3 separate regions of the Homo sapiens genome follow, and regions 1 and 3 are each linked to region 2. Evidence: promoter capture Hi-C in 16 types of primary human blood cells and fetal thymus (Javierre and others, 2016). All regions are on one chromosome and are shown on one strand. Each heading gives the region's core, a stretch centred on a gene start or on the middle of the fragment in contact. The rest is flanking DNA. Distances are from core to core; before and after follow the strand shown. Region 1 has its middle 120 kb from the start of GAPVD1. Region 2 holds the start of NR6A1 (nuclear receptor subfamily 6 group A member 1). Region 3 overlaps GAPVD1 (GTPase activating protein and VPS9 domains 1).

The links. The method cuts DNA at HindIII sites, captures the fragments that hold promoters and counts their contacts. A CHiCAGO score of 5 or more calls a contact.
Region 1: a contact is called between a fragment that was not itself captured here and the fragment with the promoter of NR6A1 in region 2, in 9 of 17 cell types (total CD4 T cells, naive CD8 T cells, endothelial precursors and 6 more). The highest score is 7.9, in total CD4 T cells.
Region 3: a contact is called between a fragment that was not itself captured here and the fragment with the promoter of NR6A1 in region 2, in 16 of 17 cell types (naive CD4 T cells, total CD4 T cells, total CD8 T cells and 13 more). The highest score is 16.8, in naive CD4 T cells.

What each region holds. Positions count from the first base shown.
Region 1 is chr9:125,381,961-125,386,366 of GRCh38, forward strand. No RefSeq gene overlaps it. Among named protein-coding and RNA genes, the nearest start is that of GAPVD1, 120 kb to the left of the region's middle. The HindIII fragment of the contact is 8,564 bases long and covers 1-4,406 here.
Region 2 is chr9:124,769,418-124,774,402 of GRCh38, forward strand. It overlaps NR6A1 (nuclear receptor subfamily 6 group A member 1), which reads right to left and starts at 1,894. Exons shown (of 10, transcript NM_033334.4): 1 at 1,603-1,894. The coding sequence starts at 1,702. LOC124900274 (a long non-coding RNA gene) reads right to left here and starts at 1,063. Exons shown (of 2, transcript XR_007061773.1): 1 at 1-1,063. LOC107987126 (a long non-coding RNA gene) reads left to right here and starts at 1,940. Exons shown (of 2, transcript XR_001746926.3): 1 at 1,940-2,356; 2 at 3,285-4,420. RefSeq lists silencers at 594-843, 1,384-1,963 and enhancers at 1,676-2,243, 2,034-2,293. The HindIII fragment of the contact is 3,513 bases long and covers 1-2,714 here.
Region 3 is chr9:125,365,390-125,370,329 of GRCh38, forward strand. It overlaps GAPVD1 (GTPase activating protein and VPS9 domains 1), which reads left to right. Exons shown (of 28, transcript NM_001282680.3): 28 at 1-1,818. Among named protein-coding and RNA genes, the nearest start is that of GAPVD1, 110 kb to the left of the region's middle. The HindIII fragment of the contact is 6,213 bases long and covers 1-4,805 here.

The DNA.
Region 1 (4,406 bases), core at 955-3,454, 610 kb after region 2:
TAAAGCCACATTCCCAGGTATTCACTGCATTATCATAGCGATGTTTTTATTTAATTTAATTAATGTATTTTATTTTATTTTATTTTATTTTATTTTATTTTATTTTATTTTGAGACAGTCTTGTTCTGTCGCTCAGGCTGGAGTGCAGTGGTGTGATCTCAGCTCACTGCAACCTCGGCCTCCTGGGTTCAAGTGATTCTCCTGCCTCAGCCTCCTGAGTAGCTGGGACTGCAGGCGCCCGCCACCATGCCCAGATAATTTTTGTAGTTTTAGTAGAGATGAGTTTTCACCATGTTGGTCAGGCTGGTCTTGAACTCCTGACCTCAGGTGATCCACTGGCCTTGGCCTCCCAAAGTGTTGGAATTACAGGCATGAGCCACCACACCTGGGCCTTACCTATTTTTATTTTATTTATTTATTTTTTTGAGACGGAGTCTCACTCTGTCACCCAGGCTGGAGTGCAGTGGTGCAATCTCTGCTCACTGCAAGCTCTGCCTCCCGGGTTCACGCCATTCTCCTGATTCTCCTGCCTCAGTCTCCTGAGTAGCTGGGACTACAGGTGCCCGCCACCATGCCCGGCTAATTTTTAAAATATTTTTAGTAGACACAGGGTTTCACCGTCTTAGCCAGGATGGTCTTGATCTCCTGACCTCATGATCTGCCCCCCTCAGCCTCCCAAAGTGCTGGGATTACAGGCGTGAGCCACTGTGCCTGGCTGTCCTTAACTATTTTTAAATTGGGTTGCTTGGTTTCTTTGTTGCTGAGTTATAGGAGTTCTTTATATATTCTGGATAGTACCCCGTATCAGATATATGATTTGGAAATGTCTTCCCCTATTCTGCAGGTTGTCTTTTTACTTTCTGGAAAATTTTCTTTTTTTTTTTTTTTTGAGACAGAGTCTCACTCTGTTGCACAGTGGTGCGATCTTGGCTCATTGCAGCCTCTGACTCCTGGGTTCAAGCGATTCTCGTGCCTCAGCCACAGGAGCAGCTGAGATTACAGGCATGCGCCACCATGCCTGGCTAATTTTAGTATTTTTAATAGAGACGAGGTTTCACCATATTGGCCAGGCTGGTCTCAAACTCCTGACCTCAAGTGATCCAGCCACCTCGGCCTCCCAAAGTGTTGGAATTACAGGCAGGAGCCACTGCACCTGGCCACCAATTTTTTTCTTTGTGCTTTTGGTATTGTAGCAAAGAAACCCAAGGTCACAAGGGTTTTCTTCTGTATTTTCTTCTAGAAGTTTTGTAGTTTTAGGTTTTACATTTATGTCCATGAGCTTCTTGGATCTGTTATTTGATGTCTTTCATTAATTTTGGAAAATTTATGGCGTTTTATAATTTTTTACTTTTATTAATATAGAGATGGGGTCTCGCTATGTTGACCAGGCTGGTCTCAATGTCCTGGCCTCAAGCGACCCTCACATCTCAGCCTCCTACAGTGCTAGGATTACAGGCATGAGCCACTGCTCCTGGCCTGGCGTTTTAAATTTAAATATTTCTTCCATCCATCTGATCCTTTTCTTCTTCTGGGATTCTAATTACATATATTTTTTAAGACTGTTTTATATTGTCTCCTAACTTTAGGATGCTCTGTTCTGTTTCTGTGTTTTTTTCCCTCCCCTATTTTTTTCTTCTTTTTTTTCCTTAGAGACAGGGTCTCACTCTGTCACCTAAGCTGGAATGCAGGGGCACAATCATAGCTCTCTGTGGTCTCAAACTCTTGGGCCCCAATGATCCTATGGCCTTGGCCTCCCAAGTAGCCAGGACTACAGACATGCACCACCATGCCCGGCTAATTTTTAAAAATTGTTTTGTATAGATACAGGGTCTCACGATGTTGCCCAGGCTGGTCTCAAGCTCCCGGCCTGTAGCAATCCTCCTACCTCAGCCTCCTAAAGTGCTGGGATTACAGGCATAAGCCACTGCTCGTGGCCTAGGTTCACTGATTACTTCCCCAGCTATGCTGAGTCTTTTGATGAGCCTGTCAACATCATTCTCTTTTACTGTGACTTTCATTTCTAGCATTTTATTTATTCTTTCCTATAGTTTCCATCTCTTTAATGAAATTCCCCAACTGTGGGTACATGCTACTCACCTTTTCTCCCATTGCCTTTAACATATTAATCATAATTATTAAAATTCCCTAAAAGTTCCAACATCTGGGTCATATCTCAGTCTGATTTTGTTGATTGCTTTATCCCTTGACGGTGTGTTGCTTTTCTTGCTTCTTTGTGTGTCTCGTATTTTTTTGATTGAAAGCTGGGATCTTGTATAGGATAGTAGAGACTGAGGTAAATAGCATTTACACCTGAAAATGGGCTTACTTCTTCTATTTTTTTTTTAAGCAGTGTTTTGCTCTGTTGCCCAGGCTGAAGTGCAGTGGTACAATCACAGCTCACTGCAGCCTTGAACTCCTGAGCTCAAGTAATCTGCTGCCTCAGCCTCCTGAGTAGCTGGAACTACAGGCATATTCCACGTGCCTGGCTAATTTATTTATATTTTGTAGAGACAGGGTCTTGCTATGTTGCCCAGGCTGGTCTTGAACTCCTGGCCTCAGGTGGTCCTTCTACCTCAGCCTCCCAAAACACAGCTGCATGGCATAGAGATGGGGCCATCACATGGTGAAACCCCATCTCTGCTGAAAATACAAAAATTAGCTGGGCATGGTGGCGGGCGGCTGTAATCCCAGCTACTTGGGTGGCTGAGGCAGGAGAATCGCTTGAACCTGGGAGGCGGAGGTTGCAGTAAGCTGAGATTGCGCCACTGTACTCCAGCCTGGGCGACAGAGCAGGACTGTCAAAAAAAAAAAAAACACCAAAAAACAACAGGTGTGAGCCCCTGTGCCTGGTTAATGCTGCTGCTTTTGCCAGGCCCTTCAGGTAGGGAGCTGGTCAGTCTAGCCAGGAGTTAAGCTGGCTTTGGGGTTTGGTGTTGCTCTGTTGCCCTCAGGGCCCCACAGTTCTCTAGCATCACTTTGCTTAACTAACAACATCGAGCATCTCCTCATGTGCTTATTTACCATACATGTATCTTCTTTGATGTAATGTATTAGTCAAATCTTTTTTTTTTTTTTCTTTTTTGAGACAGGATCTTGACCTCTTGGTCTCAAGTGATCCTCCAGCCTCCCAAAGTGCTGGGATGGCAGGTGTGAGCCACCACACCCAGCCTATTCAAATCTTTTGCCCATTTTTCTTTCTCAGATTGCTTGACATTCCTCTAATATCACTAAGTGTTTAGAGTGGGGCCTGACTTGCTAGAAGGTTTTTTCCCAATGTCCGATCCACTCTCAGTTTTTTTTTTTTTTTTTCTTTTTGAGATGGAGTCTCGCTCTGTCACCCAGGCTGGAGTACAGTGGCGTGATCTCGGCTCACTGCAACCTCTGCCTCCTGGGTTCAAGCAATTCTCCTGCCTCAGCCTCCTGAGTAGCTGGGATTACAGGCACGTGCCACCACGTCTGGCTAATGTTTTGTATTTTTAGTGGAGACGGGGTTTCACCATGTTGGCTAGGCTGGTCTCGAACTCCTGATCTCGGCCTCCCAAAGTGCTGGAATTACAAGAGTGAGCCACCGCACCCAGCCTACCCTCAGTTTTAGGTCTTCTCTTTGCATTTGCTCCCAAGAGAGCATCTCTCCCTGCATTCTTGCCTTTCCCCCAGCAGTAGACCCACAACTGTAACTTGTTATTAGTGATTTTAAGCCTTTTTTATGTTTTTTTTTTTTTTTTTTTTTTTTGCGGGGATGTTGGCGAGCTGGAATGGCATTCTCCATTATTCTGGGTCAGCTCCAGTTTTAGGCAGGAGCTGGGTCTCAGAGCTCCTTCTCCTCCCCCAGTAGCAGATGAGATCTAATAGTCTGAGCCCAGGATGTATTTCTGCCCTTCCCCTAAAATTAAGAGGGTTTTTCTGTTTGATTCCCTCACCTGCAGTGGGTCTTCCTCTGTGCCTTGAGGGCTTTTCCCACCTTGACCCCACTGCTTAAGTCTTTTGTCCCATAAAGGAGAGAATGGAAATAGAGACAGTGAGTGGAGCTTCGTGCTTTCTTGCAGGGACTGCAGGAGGCTTTCTCAGACCTCTTGCCCTGCCCCAACCTTTCTTATGAGCACCTGGTGATGTACCTAGAGAAGAACCTGAGAGTGGGTAAAAATTCTCCTTGTGTCTGCAGCTCCTGGAGATTCTATACTTCACAGTAGCTCGCACTCCACATTTAGCAAGTTGTTAAAATTTTTAGCTGCTGTTTGAGTCCATTTTCTGCTGCTATAACAGAATGCCATAGACTGGGTAATTTATAAAGAACAGAAATTTATTGGCACATGGTTCTGGAGGCTGGGAAATCCAAGATCAAAGGACCAGCATCTGGCAAGGGCCTTCTGGCTGTGTCATCCCATGGCAGAAGTGCAGAGAGGGCA
Region 2 (4,985 bases), core at 644-3,143:
CACGGATCCAACCCAAGATTTCCACCGTCTGTAGCTACTCACTCATTCAACAATTGAGCGCCTAACTGACCTATTTTCAGGTTACTTTCCTCACACCTGCCAGGTCACTGTCCTGATTGAGAAACCTCTTGGTGAAGCAGTTAATTTTTAGTGCCTCCTAACTGTCCCGGGTGTTTGCATTCAATTTGAAATCTGTTACTTGTTAGACACTGTTCGGTCCTAGATCTCTCAGAGAACTGCGAGTTTATGGCGCAGCGAGGGGAGGAGGCACTGATCTCTGAGAGCCTCCCTTTATTCGGAAATGAGGAGATGTGAAAGGTGGAAAACAGGGCAAATAAATAAATCGGGTTTGCCGCCGGAGCGTTTGCCGGCCGGTGCGAGCACCCTTTGTAATGCAGGCCTCCCGGGGCGATCGCCTGCGCTAATTGCTCCAGGGCGCTTTCCAAGTTCAAAAGTTCACCTTTTACGACCTCACAAAAGCTCCTAACACGTTACCAATAAAAACATTCCGCGGCAAACACCGAGGAGGAAAATATCAAACAGATACAAATAAAACACCCCGCAGGGGGAGGGAGCGAAGGGGAGGAGGGCGAGGAAGCCCCGAGGAACCTGAGGACCCGGCCCGGGCGAGGGGGCGAGGGACGAGCGGTAGGAAGGGCCGGGCCAGGTGAGGGATTCTCAGCTCCCAAGGTCCCGGATCGGGACAAGAAAGAGGAGAACTGAGACTAAGAGGTGGGGACCGGGACCTGCCGGGCAGAAGCCGGGAGGAGGCAGGTGTCCGGGGCCCCGGGGCGGGCTGGAGCCCTCGGCCAGGGAAAGCCGTTGCCTGGCGGAGAGGGGAGCTGAGCAGGGGCGGAGACCGGCCAGAGCGCGCGGGGCGTTGAGGAAGGTGAGGCGCAGGGGAAGCAGGAGGCGCGAAGGGGTCCGAAAAAGGAAACGACTGGGGGATGTCTAGCGAACGGGGGTTCGGCAGAGGTGGGGGGCTCGTAGTATTCAAGGAAGAACGCTCGAGGCTGCAGAAGAGGAAAACGCTCTAGAAAGCTGAGCGGTACAAGGGTGCTGTGGAGTCGGGTCAACAGGGCAAGAAGGGAGCGTCCTCGGTGGGAGGAGGAACCCCTGTAGGGGAAAAGAGAGGCTCTGCGTTAAGGGAACCCGAGTGAGGGGATGCCCCCACTGACGGACCGCGGTGGGGACTTCCAACCTGAGGAGCCCGGGGGGAGGGGAAGGTTCGGTGCTGGGAAGACAGGGGGAGGGGACCCGGGGGGAGGAGGGAGGATTGGTGCTGAGGGGACGGGGGGAGGGGAAGCCTGTGCAGAGGGGACGGGGGGAGGGGGAAATGAAGCTCGGTGCCCAGGGACCCGGGCAGGGGGAGGGTCCGCGCAGAAGGGAACAGGGACGAAGGAGGAGGATCCACCCTGAGCGAGACCGGGGAGGAGAGGGAGGGTCCGCGCCAACGGGGAACGGGGTGAAGGGCCACCCTAAGGGGCCGCGGGGCCGCTGCGGCTTCCCAGGGCGAGGGTCGGCAGAGAGGAGGGGGATCCCTGGCGGAGGCTCAGGAAGCCGGTTCCTGCCTGGCCCGGGCGTCGCAGGCCCCTCACCCACCGTTGCGCGGCGGCGGAGGGAGCGCGGCGGGAGGCTCCAGGAACCCCGCCGAGCCCCCGCCGCCTCCCCCTCCGCTAGGCGGCGGTTCGTCCCGCTCCATGCGGTGGTGCCTAGGGTCCGCGCCGGGTTTGTTGCTCCGCCATGACCGGCGCCCTAGTCGCCGTGGTCGTCGTCCGCCGAGGGGAGGAGGTTGTCAGGAGCCCGCGAGCTCCCGGCCGCGGCTCTCTCTGGGCCCCGAGCCGCCCGGCTCCGCGCCGCTCCGCGCCCCTCCGCGCCGCGCCCCCTCAGCACTGGCCAGCTCCCTCCCCTGACGTCACACGCCGCTGCCGCGCAAGGCCCTGCGGGGCACGCTGGAAGTTGGAGTCCGCTCAGCGAGGCCGGCCACGCCGACCGCACCAACTGAAGGGGTGGAAGGAGGGATAAGAAGTCCTGAGAAGGGAAAGCTAAAGTCTGTCAATATCAAGAACCATGACAAAGCGTTTGATGTCTATGTAGTAAGCGGATACTTCCGGGCCTTGTCTTGATTGTGATTTCTACCTGATCAAAGTTCCCTAAGAGTCCTCGTAACCCCCCACCCCAACAATGAGTCTTTGCGAGGAGGTGGATCGCGAGGCAGCCGGGTGAGCACGTGCAACGAAGCCCAGCCCTGTGGGCGGGGCCCTGGAGGCGGGGCTTGAAGGTACTCACGTGGGCCTCTCCCTGCCGCTGCGGGACAAATTGGACCGGAGATTAAAGGACCGGAGTTTAACTCGAGGTGACTGCGTTCGTATGCAAATGGAATATATAAAACTCTTCTTTCCGGGGTAGTCTTTAAAGACTTTTTACCTCCGGGTGGGCGGCAAAGACTAAAGTTTCCCCTCCTCCCCTTTCATTTTCCCCCTGCCCATAGAACAGATGGGCAAACTAAGCTCCGGGCCATTGGGGCTATTAAAGAAAGCCCTAGGCTCTTGACCCCAGGTGTCTTGAAACCTTCCGTTTAAGAGGGATCCCTTGCCCAGCCTTGTTTGCCTTCCCCTTTCCTCAGTTTCCCTATCTGTAAAAGGGGGTTGGAATAAGGACAGGATCAAGTTGGAAGATCGCAAACCCCTGCCCCTCCCACCTCAGTTTCCCGAAGCTTTCCGGAAGCAAAATCCCGAATTTTGCAGCGGCTCCCGGCCGAATCCACCCGCTGCGGCCACCAGGTGGCGCGCGGCCACCGGTCACTAGGCCCGCCGGGGTGTCCGTCTTCGGCGACCCCATCGGGAAAGGATTTCGCTGCTGCCGCCAAGGGTCTAAGGCCTACCTGGCCCACTTGAAGACAAAGAACGAGAACGTTGGTGCTTTGCCCACTTCTGCTCTGCCGGATTATGCTGCAGCTTCCTCGGTGGCCGCTCATTCGCCCTCTCCTGCCCCACCCGCCCCACCAATCCCTTAGCCCTTTTATTTTTTTTTTGCCTAATTTTAAGTCCTCGTCCTGGCATTCGCATCCCTGCTTGGCCTGACCCTTGCCCACATTTCGCACCATACCCCGTCCCTCACCTGCTACGAAAGTTGCAACGCTTCTCTGCACTTGGGGGCAACTGGACCTTACCAACCCTGGTGAAACTGTATTTCATACGTAATCTGGGAGACTTACATTAACGCTCTGCCGTCTAAACCTCATACCTGCTCTATGAGATAGCAACAATATTGTCCCTTTCCAGCACTGATGAAGTCCACCAGAAGTGATGGGGATTCCAGCTCCATTCTGTCACACACCAGAACCTTAATCCTTGGCTCCTTCAAGCTGGAACGCGGCTGACTTCACCTGACCCACTCCCAAACTCCTATTCATCTTTCAAGATCCTGTTCAAATGTTTCTTCAGTGGCATCTTCCTTAATACCTTCCACCGAGGGACAACTAGATCCCCTCTGCTAGGTAGCAGTGTTTCAGGAGCTAAACCCTGTGACTAAGAGAGGACGGCCTGCCATTCCCTCAGCTGTGGGTTCTAAAATACTTTAGGACCTTGCTGGGCGCCGTGGTTCATGCCTGTAATCCCCACACTTTGGGAGACTGAGGCGGGCGGATCACCTGAAGTCAGGAGTTCGAGACCAGCCTGACCAATATGGAGAAAACCCGTCTCTACTAAAAATACAAAATTAGCCAGGCGTGGTGGCGCATGCCAGTAATCCCAGCTACTCAGGAGGCTGGGGCAGGAGAATCGTTTGAACCCAGGAGGCGGAGACTGCGGTAAGCCGAGATGGCGCAATTGCACTCCAGCCTGGGCAACAAGAGCAAAACTCCGTCTCAAAAAAAAAAAGAAAGAAAAAAAAAGTCAGGACCATCTGGCCTTTCTCAGGAATCTACCTTTTTGTCACAGGTTCTGGTGGTAGTGAGTTCTCTGTCCCTGGAGATGCCATCAGAGCCTAAGTGGCACTGCAGAAACGTGCAGCCCTGGAGTTTTGGTAGTTGATGAAGATTCTAAGTCAACCCTCTTTAGATGGGCAGAAGAGTTCAGCCAAATGCTCAGCCCCTGGAAACAACTCCTCCAGTCCTTCAGACTACAGCTCTGTTGTCCCTTCCTTCCATAAACCTTCCCACACCTCCCTGACTAGTCACATCCCTTTATTCTCACTCATAACCCCAACTGCTGAGTACAGATCTGGCACATAGTAGGCTCTCAATAATTGCTGACTGGGTGAAAGAATGGATAAAAACAGCTAACCTTAGGTGAGTGACTTCTGAGCCTCTATTTCCTGTCTTCTAAGGGGATGGGTAATAATGATAGTTGCTACCTAGCAGGAATGCTATGAGAATTAAACGATGCTTGCAAAGCAATTAAAGGTCTGGCCTAATAAATGGAACCTCTTACTAATGTTATTTAAAGAGTGGTTCTAAATCTCAGATGCATGTCTTCTGAAAGTGCTTCTGGGAGGAGTCAAATACCACAAGACTGAGAAAAACAAGGGAAATGACTGTGCTAGAGACCCCAGCCACTGTCCTAAGCATTGACAGCCCAATGAACTAAGCACTCACTATGAGTCCAGCACCTACTATGGGGCCTTTTATCTAATCTCTCTACATTTCTTCCAACAATCCTAAGAAATCAATACTTTCTCCCCCAGTTTAGAAATGTGGGGACAGGTTCAGAAAGATGAAAAAGACTCTGCTACCACCTGCAGGACTCAAAAGATCTGGAAAGGAATGTGTCTAAGGGTAAGGAGGGATCTTAGGGGGCTGTGGTTCTGAGGCCAGAGGCAGCAGACAGACGGGACCAGACTGGGATACAGCTAAGAACAAGGCAGGCATGGCCGGACATGGTGGCTCACACCTGTAATCCTAGCACTTTGGGAGGCCGAGGCGGGTCAGATTGACTGATCTCAATCGGGAGGGATGACTAGAAGTGAGACTAGGTGGAGAGGAA
Region 3 (4,940 bases), core at 449-2,948, 600 kb after region 2:
GTACTTTCTTTACATGAAAGATTAGTGTAAAAGTACAAAATCAGCCCAGGAAACATTCAGCAGCCACTAGTTACTACATAGAATTTATAAAGTGGATGTTAAATGGAGAGAGAGTTGGCTCAGGTCCCCTGAAATCTTGTAGGATTAACTTCTCTGAGGAAAAGAAAAATCAGGTTTGCATTTTGTATTAATATTCTGCTTTTAGAAGTAATAGAAATACAAGTTGAAGATTGTCTTTACTTACAAAATTATATTTTAATTTTTTTTGAGACATAGTCTTGCTCTGTCACCCAGTCTGGAGTGCAGTGCTGTGATCTCGGCTCACTGTAACCACCATCTCCCAGTCTCTAGTGATTCTCATGGCTCAGCCTCCCTGGTTGCTCAGATTACAAGTGTATGCCACCACACCCAGCTAATTTTTGTATTTTTTGTAGAGACAGGGTTTCGCCATGTTGGCCAGGCTGGTCTCGAACTCCTGGCCTCAAGTGATCCGCCTACCTCGGCTTCCCAAAGTGCTGGGATTATAGGCGTGAGCCACCGTGCCCAACCACAAAATTATATGTATATATATTTAAACGTGTCAAACATTTTGCTTTCTTTCTCCATTTTAGGTAAAATCTCAGCCACAGTAATTGCTTTCTTCTGCTTTTTCTTTATAAAAACCTGCTTATGAAGGCCTTCTGATACAGATAGTTAAATCGCTGTAGTAGGAGGCTCAGGTTTTCTAAGGGATTGCAAATGTGCTGCATGGTTTTTCTATTCCTATGTCCTGGAAGCCTTTGTTTAAAGTGGGCTTTACAAATGTGTCCCTGAGGTGCGTGAGCAAGAGAACAATCTCAGCCCCAATACGGGGGCTGTGTTCTTGCCGTAAGAATCTGTAGCTGACTGGTGTGCTGAACCCGGGCACTCTTTTTCCTATTGTTTGCCATGGAAATTTCCACTTTGGACCGAGTAAGGTCAACTAGGTGTTTTAAAATTGTTTTTCTCCTATGTGATTGGGTGTGAAGAGGGAAAGTAGGAATACACTCAGAATTATTACTGGATTGCATAAAAGTGATAGAAGTGTAGTGGGGTTCACTTCCTCAATTGGTGCTTCCTAGATTTTTCTCTCCCATCTCTTCCTGCTTTGTTTCTTTAAAGAAAAGGCTGTTGTCTCTCTTTTTAAATATTTAAGTCTAGTGAGTTTATTTTGTACGCAATTGCTTTAATTTTAAGGGAAGTAAATCTGAAACTATCTTGAAGCCCAAAGGATTTTTAGTAAGTGGATTAACAGTGATGAGGTATTTGCGATTACTTTAAATGCCAAAATGCTTGAGAACTTTGCCAGGTTAAAAATTACTTAATATATTTTAGAATGTAGGTTAGAAAGTAGTAGGACAAGGAATAGCTTTATTACTCTTGAGAACACTTGGATAAATGAAAATATAGTTTGCTTCCGTGTTAAGTTGTGGTTGAGCTATGGAGTGACCCTGGAGCTGCCGCATCCCACAGGCCTGAGCTCAGCAAGGGTTCAATTCAAGAGAGATGACGTCTCCACTTGGATAATGGCAGACAGTGTGGGTAGCGGCCATGCACTAGGGGAATTCACCTCTGTCAAATTAATACTCTCCTGTCTACTGGATTCTTCTTGTGCTTCACCTGGATTAAAAAGCTGTACTGCCTCTTTTGAAACAGATAAAACCTTTCTATAAGTCTCAATTAATGAGCTTGCACAATCTTGTATATGTACAGGAAACCCCTCCTGTCTCCTAATGTGATTAGTACTGTAAAATATTCTATAAAACTGATTAAAAGGGGAGAGCAGTTTGATTCACAGGGTTTTATGTTTCTGTCATCTATTTTATATTCAGAAGCATTTCTGAAAACGTATTTGACTTCCGAATGTTCTGATGTTCTCCGTGAATTCACACACATCTTTTTTATCTGAACAATAAGGGTGTTTGCTAAGTATGGCACAAGAAGGAACTAGAATGACCTGGCAGTAACTAACACAATGGTGAACATCTAAGGGTTTTTTTTTTTTTTTTTTTGAGACAGGGCCTGGCTCTGTCGCCCAGGCTGGAGTGCAGAGGCAGGATCTAGGGTCACTGCAAACTCTGCCTCCTGTTCTCAAAGATCCTCCAGCCTCAGCCTTCCCAGTAGCTGGGACAACAGGCATACGCTACCACACCTGACTAATATTTGTATTGTTTGTAGAGGCAGGGTTTTGCCATGTTGCCCAGTCTCCTGAGCTCAAGCGATCTGCCCGCCTCAACCTCCCAAAGTGCTGGGATTACAGGCGTGAGCCACTGCACCCAGACCTTCATCTATGGATTTAACAGTTTCTGCCTAATGCCTATATTTGGTAGCTATTTATCATTTTTCATTTTGAAAGCAAAAGTGTTGCCATCTAATCACAATATTCATTTAGGCCTTTATTAATCTTTCCAGCCAAGGGAAGTTACTTTTGACAAGGAGTACTAACTCATTCTTCAGGCTTCCCTTGCTGGTGAGAAGGCGCTTTTCTTATATTGATTGCACTTCATTTAGAAGGAAATAGTTAAAAACTTGCTTACGGCCCATTTCCATTTGCTCTGTTCAGTATTTTTTTTTTTTTTTTTGAGGCAGAGTTTTGCTCTTGTTACCCAGGCTGGAGTGCAATGGCTCGATTTTGGCTCACTGCAACCTTCGCTTCCCAGGTTCAAGCAGTTCTGCCTCAGCCTCCTGAGTAGCTGGAATACAGGCATGCGCCACCACGCCCAGCTGATTTTGTATTTTTAGTAGAGACGGGGTTTCGCCATATTGGTCAGGCTGGTCTCGAACCCCTGACCTCAGGTGATCCACCTGCCTCGGCCTCCCAAAGTGCTGAGATTACAGGTGTAAGCCACCGCACCCGGCCCACTCTTCAATATTAAAACGAGTGGTATGACGCCTAGAACCAAAAATAGCATTCAGCTTTTCTTGCCAACTTGGAATTTACCTGTGTCGCTTGGACTGCTGTTACGCTTGTACCCACTCAACCCTTTCCGCAAGTACAGGGCTCCGTAGCTTTTCCTCACAGGATGCTGAGCTACTGACACTAGCTTCACGAGCCTGCCTGCCATACTGCTGCAAAATGGGTGGTGATCCTGTAGAGAGAAACCAGGGCTGAAGCTCCTCTTGGCCATAAATGTGTCCTCCACCTAAGGATTGAAGTATTCAGCGAAGAGCTTTTGCTTCACTTATTTCATTCCAGAAGAATCCTTTCCATCCACTTAGGGTAGTAAAATATAGCCCATAGATTTAAAAAAAAAAAAAAAAAAAAAAAAGACCCATGCCCAGAGAAAGTGTTTTAGCTCATGCCTGTAATCCCAGCACTTTGGGAAACGAAGGCGGGAGGATCACTTGAGCTCAGGAATTTGAGGCCAGCCTGGGAAACAATGAGACCTGGTCTGTACAAAAAAAAAAAAAAAAAAAATTTAAATAAGCCAGGCATGGTGGCACATCCCTGTAGTCCCAGCTACTTGGGAGGCTGAGGTGGGAGGATGGCTTGAGCCCAGGAGTTCCAGGCTGCAGATTGGGCCACTGCATTCCAGTCTGGGTTACAGGGCGAGATCTTGTCTCTAAAAAAAGAAAAAATATATATGACCAAAGAACCATATAGGCTATTGTGGAGATCCAGAACACCGTCCACATTTTATGCTAAAGCGGAAACAGCTCTCAGTTCCAAGTCCTTGGACCTGTTGTAAACAATGAATGTGAAAACCATGGTAATCTTATTTCTGTTAGCTGTTTAGGAATTCAGCGTATTGCTGGTCGAAATATATGCTGTGACCCACCCTGACCAACTAGATCATCTTTGGGGATGGGGCCCAGGATTTGGTGCTCTAGGGAGTTATACTATATAAACTGTTTCCCAAACTTCCCTGTTGAGAATCACCTGGTATTCTTGTTGGTATATAAGAGTCCATAGGGGAGGGAACCAGGAATCTTTGAACAAGTCCTCCCAGTGACTTTTATTTTCCAGAGAGTTTTTGTTTTTGAGACAGGGTGTCACCCTGTCACCCAGGCTGGAGTGCAGTGGCATGATCCTAGCTCACTGTGGTCTCAAACTCCTGGGCTCAAGTGATCTTCCTGCCTCAGCCTCCTGAGTAGCTGGGACCACAGGTGCATGCCACAACACCTGGCTAATTTCAAAAAAGTTTTTCAGAGATGGGGTCTTGCTTGCTATGTTGCCCTCTCTGGTCTTGAACTCCCAGGCTCAAGCGATCCTCCTGTCTCAGCTTCCCAAAGTACTGGGATTACAGGTGTGAACTGCCATGCCCAGCCTCTCCAAGAGAGTTTGAGAAGCACCAGGAGAGCTTGCACTTGATGAAGAATGAACCAGTGGCCCGCCTACCCTCATCGCCCACCTGGGGAGGTTCATAAAACCACAGACTCATGATCCCACCCCATACCCATTGAATCAATTTCTGGGGAAGATGCCAGGAATCTGCATTTCTAGCAAGCTCCCCATCTCACTGAAACTCATGAAAATGTATGATCCACTGTGAAAGTGGTTAACTCCTAAACACTTGGCTTCATAGCTCACAAGGGTAATAAGCATGAATGGGGAAGCCCCTTTAAAAGAATGAGAATTGTTAGCCTACAGCCAATCCAATGATTCCTTTAAGGATAGCTCTTTTTATATGCTTAGAATGAAGCATTTTCTTTACTCATAACTGCCTGTTATGTAACGCTGTTTCCTTAGCCTCAAATTGCTAAACATTTCCAGAGAATCATGGTGTTCAATGACATACCCAAATTTATGTATGAAAAATTCTTAGAGTCTAATCTTTCTGTGTTTAAGCTTTTAAAATGTTTTTTTGTTTGTTTGTTTGTTTTGTTTTTGGGTTTTTTGTTTGAGATGGAGTCTCACTCTGTCACCCAGGCTGGAGTGCAGTGGTGCGATTTCGGCTCACTGCACGCTCTGCCTCCTGGGT